Regions from separate parts of the Homo sapiens genome. Here all the other regions are linked to region 2. The links are contacts of gene promoters, found by promoter capture Hi-C in blood cells and fetal thymus (Javierre and others, 2016). All regions are on one chromosome and are shown on one strand. The core of a region is centred on a gene start or on the middle of the fragment in contact, and the rest is flanking DNA. Distances in the headings are between cores, read along the strand shown.

Region 1 (3,187 bases), core at 20-2,519, 460 kb before region 2:
GTTATCTGCAGGCCAGTTTTGGACTGGGCAATAACCGTAAGGATGGTGGTTGGAGAGGCAAAGCAATAGAGCCTTAGGTGTCGGTGCTTAACTTCCAGAAGCCAAAAAGTTACAATTACTATAATGACTAGCAAGGTCAGAGGGGCAGCCAAGGGTCCTTGACTGGCAGACAGTTACACAAATGGTTAACAGAGCATGACATCCCCAGGGGCAAATATAATAGATGAGCAGACTACATGAGTGTTAGTTAACAACTGTAATCACAAAAAAAAGACAAAAATGGATGACTGGGAAACTGAGGATGGTTGCCCCAATCAAGAGTCCTGATCCTTTGCTAGTTAGTCCCTGGTCCCGAGCCAATTTGCAGATCCAGAACCCTTTGACTGAAGACATGGCCAGGACTTTAGGAGGGGTGCTGTAGCATTATATATTATAATTCTCCTTCCTCAAAGGGACCTATGGTCATTTACTCAGGTGACTGTAAACTAAGGAAAAGGAGAAAACAAATACATTTTGAGGAATATTTAATACAGGCTCTGAGCAGACAGTGACACCTGGAAACCCAAAGTATTATCATGCCCTCCTTATTCCAGAGGAATTTATGGAGGCCAGGCAATAAGTGGAATCCTAGAATTGTGCTTAATGCAAATTAGATGCCTATTACTTATTGACTGATTTGATTCACTACAAGAATGGTTATGAAAAATAAGGAGAAAGATTTTATTCCTTGGACATGACTACAAAAAATAATCTTCCATGTACAAATTCTACAGGCAAAAACATAATTAGCAAAAAATGTTGATATGAGAGTTATTGCTAGGAGGTTGAAATTCTAAGCAAGAATTTATTAGACTGAAGGTTTCTAGGAAAGGCAAGAATTGCAAGGACAGTTCTTCCATTAGGCTGAAATAAGCTCACGAGGTCAACAAAGAATTATGATTGATTAGGAAGGACCTATTTCCTCTTCTTTTGGAGGCCTTTAACTTCTACTTCACTTGCCCTCCATTTAAAAGCTTTCTTCCTATGGTGATCTGTTTCAAGATCCTAGCCAGAGGCATAGGAGCCTCCAACCAGCAGTCAAGGGCATTCTGAGTATCAGAAGTATTTAATTCAGTAGGGACATATGCAAGAATCTATTCCTTTACAGTTTAACTACTTTTGTACACAACATTATATCCTTATATTCTCCTATAATTTTTTAAATGAGACTAGCTCTAGGATCCTGTGGGTTCCTTTCTCTAATTAATACACCATCAATAGAGAATCAAAGGTTCAGTTATCAGATTGTCTTTCTTTCTCTAAGCCAGTCCAGAAGGGTGGATAGGACTTACTATTGCATAGTCTTCAAATATAACTACCCAATTAAACTGGTCTAGATACTTTTAGGATATATAGCAGTGATCTCCCTTATAATTTGTAATTCCCTGCTGTAAACTCCAATCTGCATGTGGAAATTTTAAGTTGGGTCATCCTTATAAGTCTCCAAAAACACTTCTGGAAAGGGACATTTTGGCAATATGTATCAAAAGCTTTAAAAACGTATATATGCTTTGACTAAAAATCTCCACTTCTAAAATTTTTTTCTGAGGAAATAATCAGAATGGGATGCACAAGTGCATAAGAATGTTCATCTCAGCTTTATTTCACGGCAAACAGAGAGGATGACTAAAAAGAAGAGTGAATAAATAAATCTATACGATGAAATTCAATCAATAAAGGTACTATAGAAAAATTTATCTTTTGAGGCCAGGGACAGTGGCTCATGCCTTTGGGAGGCTAAGGTGAAAGGATTGCTTTTGAGCTCAGGAGTTTGAGATCAGCCTGGGCAACATAGTGAGACCTTATCTCTACAAAAAATTTTAAAAATTAGCCAGGCATTGTGGTACATGCCTGTAGTTCCACCTACTGGGGGGCTGAGGTGGGAGGATCACTTGAGCCCAAGGAGGTCAAGGGTGCAGGGTGCAGTGAGCCATGACTGTGTCACTGCACTCCAGTATGGGTGACGGAGTGACATCCTGTAGCAAAAAAAGGATAAAAATCAACATCAGAAAATTTGGATCAACTTTTGGATAAATATATATACTTAAAACATATTTTCATATGTCTGTAAATACATATATACATTCCTATCTATACACACATACACAGTAAAAGCAGAGAGACAGTAAGGACTAGAATAAAAAAGAACAAAATAATTGAGTATTAGTGCTCTGATCATCTTTTACAGTTCTCCTTGGCAAGACTAATATATTCAAGAGAAAAATTCCTATTTGCTCCATATATCAAGCAGAAAACAGAAGCTAGACATCCACAGCTATTAAAACAACAACCACTACCAAAACAAACAACAAAAAAAGTAGTATTCTGTTTAAATGATTGTGTCAGCTCTCTCTTTCTCTCTCTTGCTTCTTGGGACTTGACTGTATTGTTAGTGTTATCCATGTGGGAGAAACCTAAGTCAGCTGCACAATCAGATCAGAAATCTGGTGGAGGCTCTCAAGGGGTTCCTATTCATCCCAACCCCCTTCCCCACTAATTGTATCCTCCATTCCTTCAGTCTTCATGGATCTGGTGGGTGAGGCATGGGGCTGCTCAGGAAAAAGCAGCAGGGCAGATGCTGCAGTTTTAAGTGAAATCAGGTGTTGCTTTCCCTGAAGTAAGATCTGGAAAATGTCAACCTTAAGTAACCGGTACTGGCAGCTGAACACGTAGTCTTCCCCACTGGGCTCAGTGTTTCCTTTCCCTGCAAGAAGTACCTAGGCTTTTCCCTTTCCTCTTGCATTGCCCCATCTCCTTCATCGTGGGACTCTTTAGAGTTCATTGAATAAAAATTTCCATTTTGTAGATATTCATCTGACATGATTCTAAGTATGTTGGAAATGGAAAAGTGGCAATAGAATCCACAAGTGTCAAATAAAACACACTTTAGTGTTGTTGGTGACCTAGGCTTCAACCTGTGGAGGAAATATAAAAGATTTCTTGGAGGAATGGGGAGAAACAACTGAGTCCTGGCTCTTTTCTCCATATGCTGAGAGATACAGGCAGAAACACAGCACACAAATTTGATAAAGCCAAAGTATTAAATGGAGCTGAGAGAACATTCCTTAGATTTCCTTTCTTTTTCTTCTGCTAGGCCAGTCTGGAACTATTTCATTGCAGAATTGCAATCCAGATTGCAGAAACACAC
Region 2 (3,541 bases), core at 452-2,951:
GGCCGCGCGGAGCTGGCTGTTCCGCCCTCGCGGCAACCGCACCAACAGGAACCGAAACGGCCTCGGCAAGGGCAGCTACAGCCTCTCAGTCCTCCGGCTACCTTTCCTCCACGTGGAAGGAGCGCTCCACGTGGCGCCTCCCGCTACCTGCCGCGTCCGCAGACCCGACCCGGGCCAGGGGGACAACCCCAAGAGCTGAGAGGCGGGCGCACCTCAAGAAGCAAAACTCGAATTTCGCAAGGAGTGAAAAATACGAAGGACGCACAACGGACCTGGCCTCGGGGCAAAGTGGGACTGAGAGCGCTGAGGGCTCTTCGAGGGGAACCCACAGCTGAGGCTCCAACTTGTAGGGAATTTTTAAAAACTCAACACTTGGATTCGACATTGCAGAGGATTTATTTCTTATTTTACACTGCAACTCTGTCCCTGATGGGAAGGGATCGCAGTTGCCTAACTGCCAAACTGCAACAACCCGGGAAGAGTGTGAGCCCAATTAGATTACAAGCCCTAGAGCAAAGGGGATCACAAACCTCCGGGTTTGCTAATCTGCTGGTGCGGAGTTCAGATCTCCGAAGCCTCCCTGGAGTATTTCTAGGACTCTTACCGCTTCCCTTATAACGCTGTGACCCCAGCGAGGATTTTTTTTTTCCTTTAAAGAAAAGCTAAACTGTGCAGTTACCGCAGGAGATTTAAGGAGGAGGAACTGGCGGGGGGAGGGGGGCATTCCGTCTATAAAAAGCGCCTTACAAAGTCCTGAAGTCTGGAAATGACAGCGGAGGATATAAAATAAAAAATTTTAACTCCGATCCAACTTGCCCACCACTCAAGCCTCTGCTTAAATTCGTTTTCTGAGAGTGGGAGAGAACTGACGAAACGATCTTTCCGTGGAAAATTCCAGTTTCGTGCAATCCCGCTTGAACACTCACACACACACACTCTCCTGTCTCACATACACACACACACACACACACACACACATACCCATTCCTTTCAGCTCTTTGTTGTTTGAGACCTTTTCTTCGCTTTTGTAACTGCTCTGAACCTCTTGTTTCTTTTTCAGAAGTAGACGGGAAGGCTAATTGTGGATATATGTAAGCACAACATTTTTTCAGTCATAACTGATAAGTTTCTGAAATGCCTTCTGCATTGCAAACATGTGCATCTTAATAGAAAACATTGCTTTTCTCAATCACTAGTTACAGCCTCACAGCACACAATCCAGGAGAAGGAAAACCTCTTTTCTTCTCTTTGAGAGATCTGCTTGGCTTATTTTCTTCTTTCCCCTTTGGAATGGGGGATAGGAAGGGCTTGAGGGGGTGTTACTAAAAAATTTTAAATGATCCATCGAAACCCCTGCCTTACCTTAGGAAATCGAGCCAGCCATCATGAATGATGGACGGATCCAGCTGCAGAGAGAGGAAGTTCTCATTGACTGTCCTGACTGGGTTCTTGGTGCTCACATCAAGTAGAATCAGGGTCTTTTCCTTCAAACCTGCAGCTCTGTCTACAGGCAAGGGTCTCCTGTCTCCAGCCTGGGAGGAAAGGGAGAGATGGAGCAACAGAGCCAAGTAGAGAGCCCCCGGGGCTAGGCACGCGGGGGGGCGGGAGTTGCTGGAGGGCATGGCTTCAGGGAAGGCACAAAGCACCCTCATTCAATCCCTCTGATTTAAACCTCTCTTCCTACTGGGTCTCGCTAGTGACTAATTGTCCTTATCTAAAGTGTGTGTCTGTCCGCCTTTTTCCCCCCTTTTTTTCCCTTCCTCCCACCACCCCCCCAACACACACACACTCTCTCTCTCTCCCGCTCTCTCTCTCTCTCGCTCGCTCGCTCGCTCGTTTTGTTTTTTTCTTTTTTTTTTTTAATTTTTTTTAATTTTTTTTTTCAGTGTTTTGGTGCTGGTGGAGCGAACTCACGCCCCTAGCCAGCCTTCCCCGTGACTCTTGCCAAGAGAACTCGTACACCGGCACCGCCCCTTTAAGAGATTTCTACTGCAGACATTTTTTAACTTTTTAAAGGTAAGGGGAGGGGAGCAGGCGGGAAGGAGGAGAAAAGGGTGGCGTTGTACCCTCCTAATTTAACCCTCTAGGGTCAGGAAGCAGAGGGAGGAATCCAAACCATGCCGTTGTACCGTCTGGGTACAGAGCAAAGGGTCTCGTTTTTACGTCCTTCCCTGAGAGGCTCTGGAGGGCGGTTCAAGCTCCGACTCCGACCCGAAAGCCCCAGCGCCAACCCGGGACGCGCTGGGATAGAGTTCCCACCGACAGCACGCTTGTTTCTCCTGACAGCGTCAGGCACTTCGTCCGCTCAGGGCCCTTTTCTGGTTGAAGCAGCAATACCAAGGGCGGTTAAGTTGCAGAGGGGTCTTGAGGCGGTGATTCCTGTCAAAGCATAGAGCCCTGAAGGACATTCCCCGAAGAGGAGCCCTGATCTCTGTGACGCGTTGGATAGCCACACCGAAGCATCCTCTGACCTCCATAGGGCAAAGAGTAGCAAGAAGGAAAAACATAGTGACCTGGTCAAGCAGCTTTTCCGATCCGAGGGCCAAAAGGGACATGCGCCCTCGCTCTGCTCTGCTCTTCCCGCAACCGAGGAATAAGCGTCTTGGGAGCGTCAATACATGCTGGCTTTGGCCAAGTCGAAGCTACCTGAGCTGTGCTTGGATAGTCAGGGCGGCTCTGCGTCCAACTGTGCCACTTCTTGGCCACTCTATTCTGCTGCACAGGTAGAGTCCCCCCTCCAGACCCTCCTGGAGGTCAATCCTATACTTAGCCCTCCTGCAGGGAAGTGCGCCTTTACAGTGCCAGATGGGACCATAGTGACACTTTCGGGTTTCCATCTCGGCCCCCAGTCAAAACCAGAGTCACATAGCCCTGGATGGGGAATAACAGCCGGAAGCCGCTGTGATGCACGACCCGCCGCTGCTCATTGAGCTTCCACCCCACAACAGCTTGCAAATTGAACTCTAGGTCCTATCCTGAAGCGCGGGAAAGGGATCAGGCACAGTTTGCTGCAGTCACATTGCTGGGCCCCACTTTCGGCTTCTTTCTGAGACAAAATGGGACTTCTACTTGGCAGATGAAGGGAACTACTTTATGTAGTGCGGGCAGTCAGAAACGCAGAAGCGTCCAGGGCCCTCCTTGGTATCAAACAAGCAAAACCCTAAAATGCAGAGCAAGGGTTTTCCCCAGAAGTGGATGGACAAGGGTTAGTCTTAAAGCCCAGCAAACGCTGTAATAGCAACCTGTATCCTCTTACCTCCACCCAGACCAGGATTAACAAATCTGAAAACAGCTGGAATAGATGACCTTCAACTGAAGTTCCCTGAAAAGCCTCTACCAACCTAAGCACCCAGGAAATCGAGATTATGTTGCATTCATCTGTGAAGCGCCATGACGACCTTCTAGAAATAGGACTGCATAAGATGAGGATATGGGAGAAAGCAAATGCAAGTCATATTATTTAAAGATGATTTTTTTAAATCAAGCTGTTACATAGTGAAGTATTGGATGTTGGCTCCAGCCCTAAGGCCTGTTTCCTTCA
Region 3 (3,416 bases), core at 368-2,867, 350 kb before region 2:
AGTGTAAGAGACTAGAAAACCATGCAAGTATGTTTAAAGTTTTTCATTATATCACTTCTGCTAACATTCCATTGGGTAGAGCAAGTCATTTGGCTAAACCCAACATCAATGAGACAGGAAAGTATGTTCTACTCACAGTGGCAGGCCCAGCATAGTGGCAAAGAGGATAAATGTAAAATATTTTAACACAGAGAGTTTATGGGAAGTTCAGAACAATGACTGTCTAATCTAGCCCAGTGCTCTACACGAATTATTTATCTATTTCTTTACAACAATACTATGGAATAAACACAATTTCCCTATTACAGTTTGGGGAACTGAGATACAGAGGAGATAATAACTATGCAAATATCACAGTATTAGCAGGTTGTTGTTATAAGATTTGAACCTTCAGAGTATGATGCCGAAGATTGTATACTTTATCAGTCTGATTCACCTCCGCCCAAACATGTCCTGTGATCAATGTTTAAAGCAATAAGAGCAGTTTTGCATGGAGAGGAAAAGCCATATGTTGACCATCTTCCTAGCTCTGAAGGGCTATCATATGGAAGAGAGAGACAAGATTTGTTTTATTTGTTGTAAAAATGTGGTACCCTTGGTAGAGGTAGTGGGTTGAGAGATCAAAGGAATATACATTTTGGCACAATTTAAAAAAAAACTTTTTTAACAGTAAAAACTTCTCAATGATGGCTTGTATCCAAGTAAATACCTAGGTGACCACAAGGCATGGGTGTTATAAAGAAGATTCCAAAATCATATGGAAAATATGGTTAGCTTGAAAGATAGTTAAAACCTAAAATTCTTTCAGCCAAGAAACTTTATAATTCTATGAAAATTATTCTAAAAACATAGACATTCACTGTAAGTTAATAACAGCTTTTATTACAGTAGTAATAAAGCAGAGTTTTTCAATGTCCAAAATGGCTAGAAACTTTTAGAGCTAGCTAATAATTAAGAATCTTGGCTGGGTGTGGTGGCTCACACCTGTAATCTCAGCAATTTGGGAGGCTGAGGCAGGAGGATCACTTGAGGCCAGGAGTTCAAACCCAGCCTGGGCAACATAGCATGACCCATCTTTACAAAATACAAATAAATTAGCCAGGCATAATGACATGTGCTTGTAGTGCCAGCTAGTCGGGAGGCTGAGGCTGGAGGATTGCTTGAGCCTAGGAGTTCAAGCCTGTAGTGAACTATGATTGCACCACTGCACTCTAGCCTGGGAGACACAGCAAGACACCAACTCTAAAAAGTAAAATAAATAAAATAATAATCCTACAATGGCCTCTAAGTGTTTAAGTGAAAGAGTCACATGTTTCTCATTTTAAATCAAAAGCTCAAAACAATTAAGCTTAGTGAGAAAGGCATGTCTAAAGCTAAAGCTCAAAGCTAGGCCTCTTATACCAAACAGTTAGCCAACTTGTTAATGTAAAGAAAAAAGTTATTGAAGAAAATAGAAATTTCTACTCCAGTGAACACAGAAGTTATAAGAAAGCTCAACAACCTTATTACTGATATGGAGAAAGATTTAGTGGTCTAGATAGGTCAAACCAGCCACAGAATTCCCTTAGGCAAAAGCCTAATCCAGAGCAAGGCCTTACCTCTCTTTAATTCTCTGAAGGCTGAGAGAGGTGAGGAAGCTGCTGAAGAAAAAGTTGGTTCATGAGGTTTAAGGAAAGAAGCTATCTCCAGAACATAAAAGTACCAGATTAAGCAACAAGTCCTGATGTAGAAGCTGTACCAAGTTCTCCAGAAGATCTAGCCAAGGTAATTGTTGAAGGTGGCTACACTGAACAACAGATTTTCGACGTAGTTGAAACAGCCTTCTATTGGAAGAAAATGCCCTCTAGGACTTTCATAACTAGAGAGAAAAAGTCAATGCCTGGCTTCAAAGCTTCAAAGGATAGGCTGATTCTCTCGTTAGGGGCTAATGCAGCTGGACTTTAAGTTGAAACCAGTGCTCATTTACCATTTCAAAAATCTTAGGTTCTCTAAGATTTATGCAAAATCTACTCCATCTGTGCTCTATAAGTGGAATGACAAAACCTGGATGACAGCACATCTGTTTACAGCATGGTTTACTCTAGCAGTCCTCAACCTTTTTGGCACCAGGGACTGGTTTTGTGGAAGACAATTTTTTCATGGATGGTGGAGGTAGTGGGGTGTTGGCGAGGAGGACGGTTTCAGGGTGAAACTGTTCCACCTCAGATCATCAGGCATTACTTAGATTCTCGTAAGGAGCACACAACCTAGATCCCTTGCAGAGATCCCTCTGACAGAGATGTACAAAGAGACTTGTGTTGTTTTTATGCCTGCTAACCCAGCATCCATTCTGAAGCCCATGGATCAAGGAGTAATTTGGACTTTCAAGTATTATTATTTAAGAAATACATTTTGTAAGGCCAGAACTGCCATAGGCAGTGATTCCTCTGATGGATCTAAGCAAAGCAAATTGAAAACCTATGGAAATGTTTCACCACTCTAGATGCCATTAAGAATATTTGTGATTCATGGGAGGAGGTCAAAATAGCAACATTAACAGGAGTTTAGAAGAAATTGATTCCAACCCTTATTGGTGACTTTTAGGGGTTCAAGACTTCAGTGGGGGAAGTAACTTCAGATGTGGTAGAAATAACAAAAGAACTGGAATTAGAAGTGGAGCCTGAATATGTGACTGAATTGCAACAACCTCATGATGAAACTTTAATGGATGAAGAATTGATTCTCATGAATGAGCAGAGGGAGTGGTCTCTTGAGATGGAAACTATTCCTGGTGAAGATGCTCTGAACATTGTTGAAGTGACAGCAAAGTATTTAAAATATTACATAAGCTTAATAAAGCAACTGCAGAGTTTGACTTTAATTTTGAAAGAAATTCTACTGTGGGTAAAATGCTATCAAGCAGCATCATGTGCTACAGAGAAAACTTTCATGAAAAGAAGAGTTGACCAATATGGCAAACTTCACTGCTGTCTTATCTTAAGAAATTGCCACAGCCACTTCAACCTACAACCACCACCACCTTGATTAGTCAGCATTTGTCAACATAGAGACAAGGCCCTCCACTAGTACAGACATTACAACTCACTGAAGTTTCAGGTGATTGTCAGCATTTTTTGCCACTAAAGTTTTTTTTTAATTAATGTATGTACTTTTTAAAGACATAATGCCATTTCATACTTAATACACTATAGTACAGTATAAACAGAATGTTTATATGCACTGTGAAACCAAAAACCTCATATGACTTGCTTTATTGAGATATTCACTTTATTTTGGTGGTCTAGGACCAAACCTGTGTATCTCTGAGGCAGGTCTCCATCCAAATTACTTTCATCTCTGTTACTATGGTGAAATCTGGAGACAGTATAAAATCTGAAAGGTGTTGAAAGTTTAGATGAAGGGCCAGCTATTGAAAA

What was found. The method cuts DNA at HindIII sites, captures the fragments that hold promoters and counts their contacts. A CHiCAGO score of 5 or more calls a contact.
Region 1: a contact is called between a fragment that was not itself captured here and the fragment with the promoter of HPSE2 in region 2, in 1 of 17 cell types (naive B cells). The highest score is 5.1, in naive B cells.
Region 3: a contact is called between a fragment that was not itself captured here and the fragment with the promoter of HPSE2 in region 2, in 1 of 17 cell types (M2 macrophages). The highest score is 5.3, in M2 macrophages.

Annotation. Positions count from the first base shown.
Region 1 is chr10:98,772,042-98,775,228 of GRCh38, forward strand. The region is part of intron 3 of HPSE2 (heparanase 2 (inactive)); the gene reads right to left. Among named protein-coding and RNA genes, the nearest start is that of MIR6507, 150 kb to the right of the region's middle. The HindIII fragment of the contact is 516 bases long and covers 1,012-1,527 here.
Region 2 is chr10:99,234,151-99,237,691 of GRCh38, forward strand. It overlaps HPSE2 (heparanase 2 (inactive)), which reads right to left and starts at 1,702. Exons shown (of 12, transcript NM_021828.5): 1 at 1,363-1,702. The coding sequence starts at 1,652. RefSeq lists a silencer at 12-131 and enhancers at 2,279-2,779, 2,780-3,280. The HindIII fragment of the contact is 7,443 bases long and covers 1-3,541 here.
Region 3 is chr10:98,882,561-98,885,976 of GRCh38, forward strand. The region is part of intron 3 of HPSE2 (heparanase 2 (inactive)); the gene reads right to left. Among named protein-coding and RNA genes, the nearest start is that of MIR6507, 40 kb to the right of the region's middle. The HindIII fragment of the contact is 543 bases long and covers 1,347-1,889 here.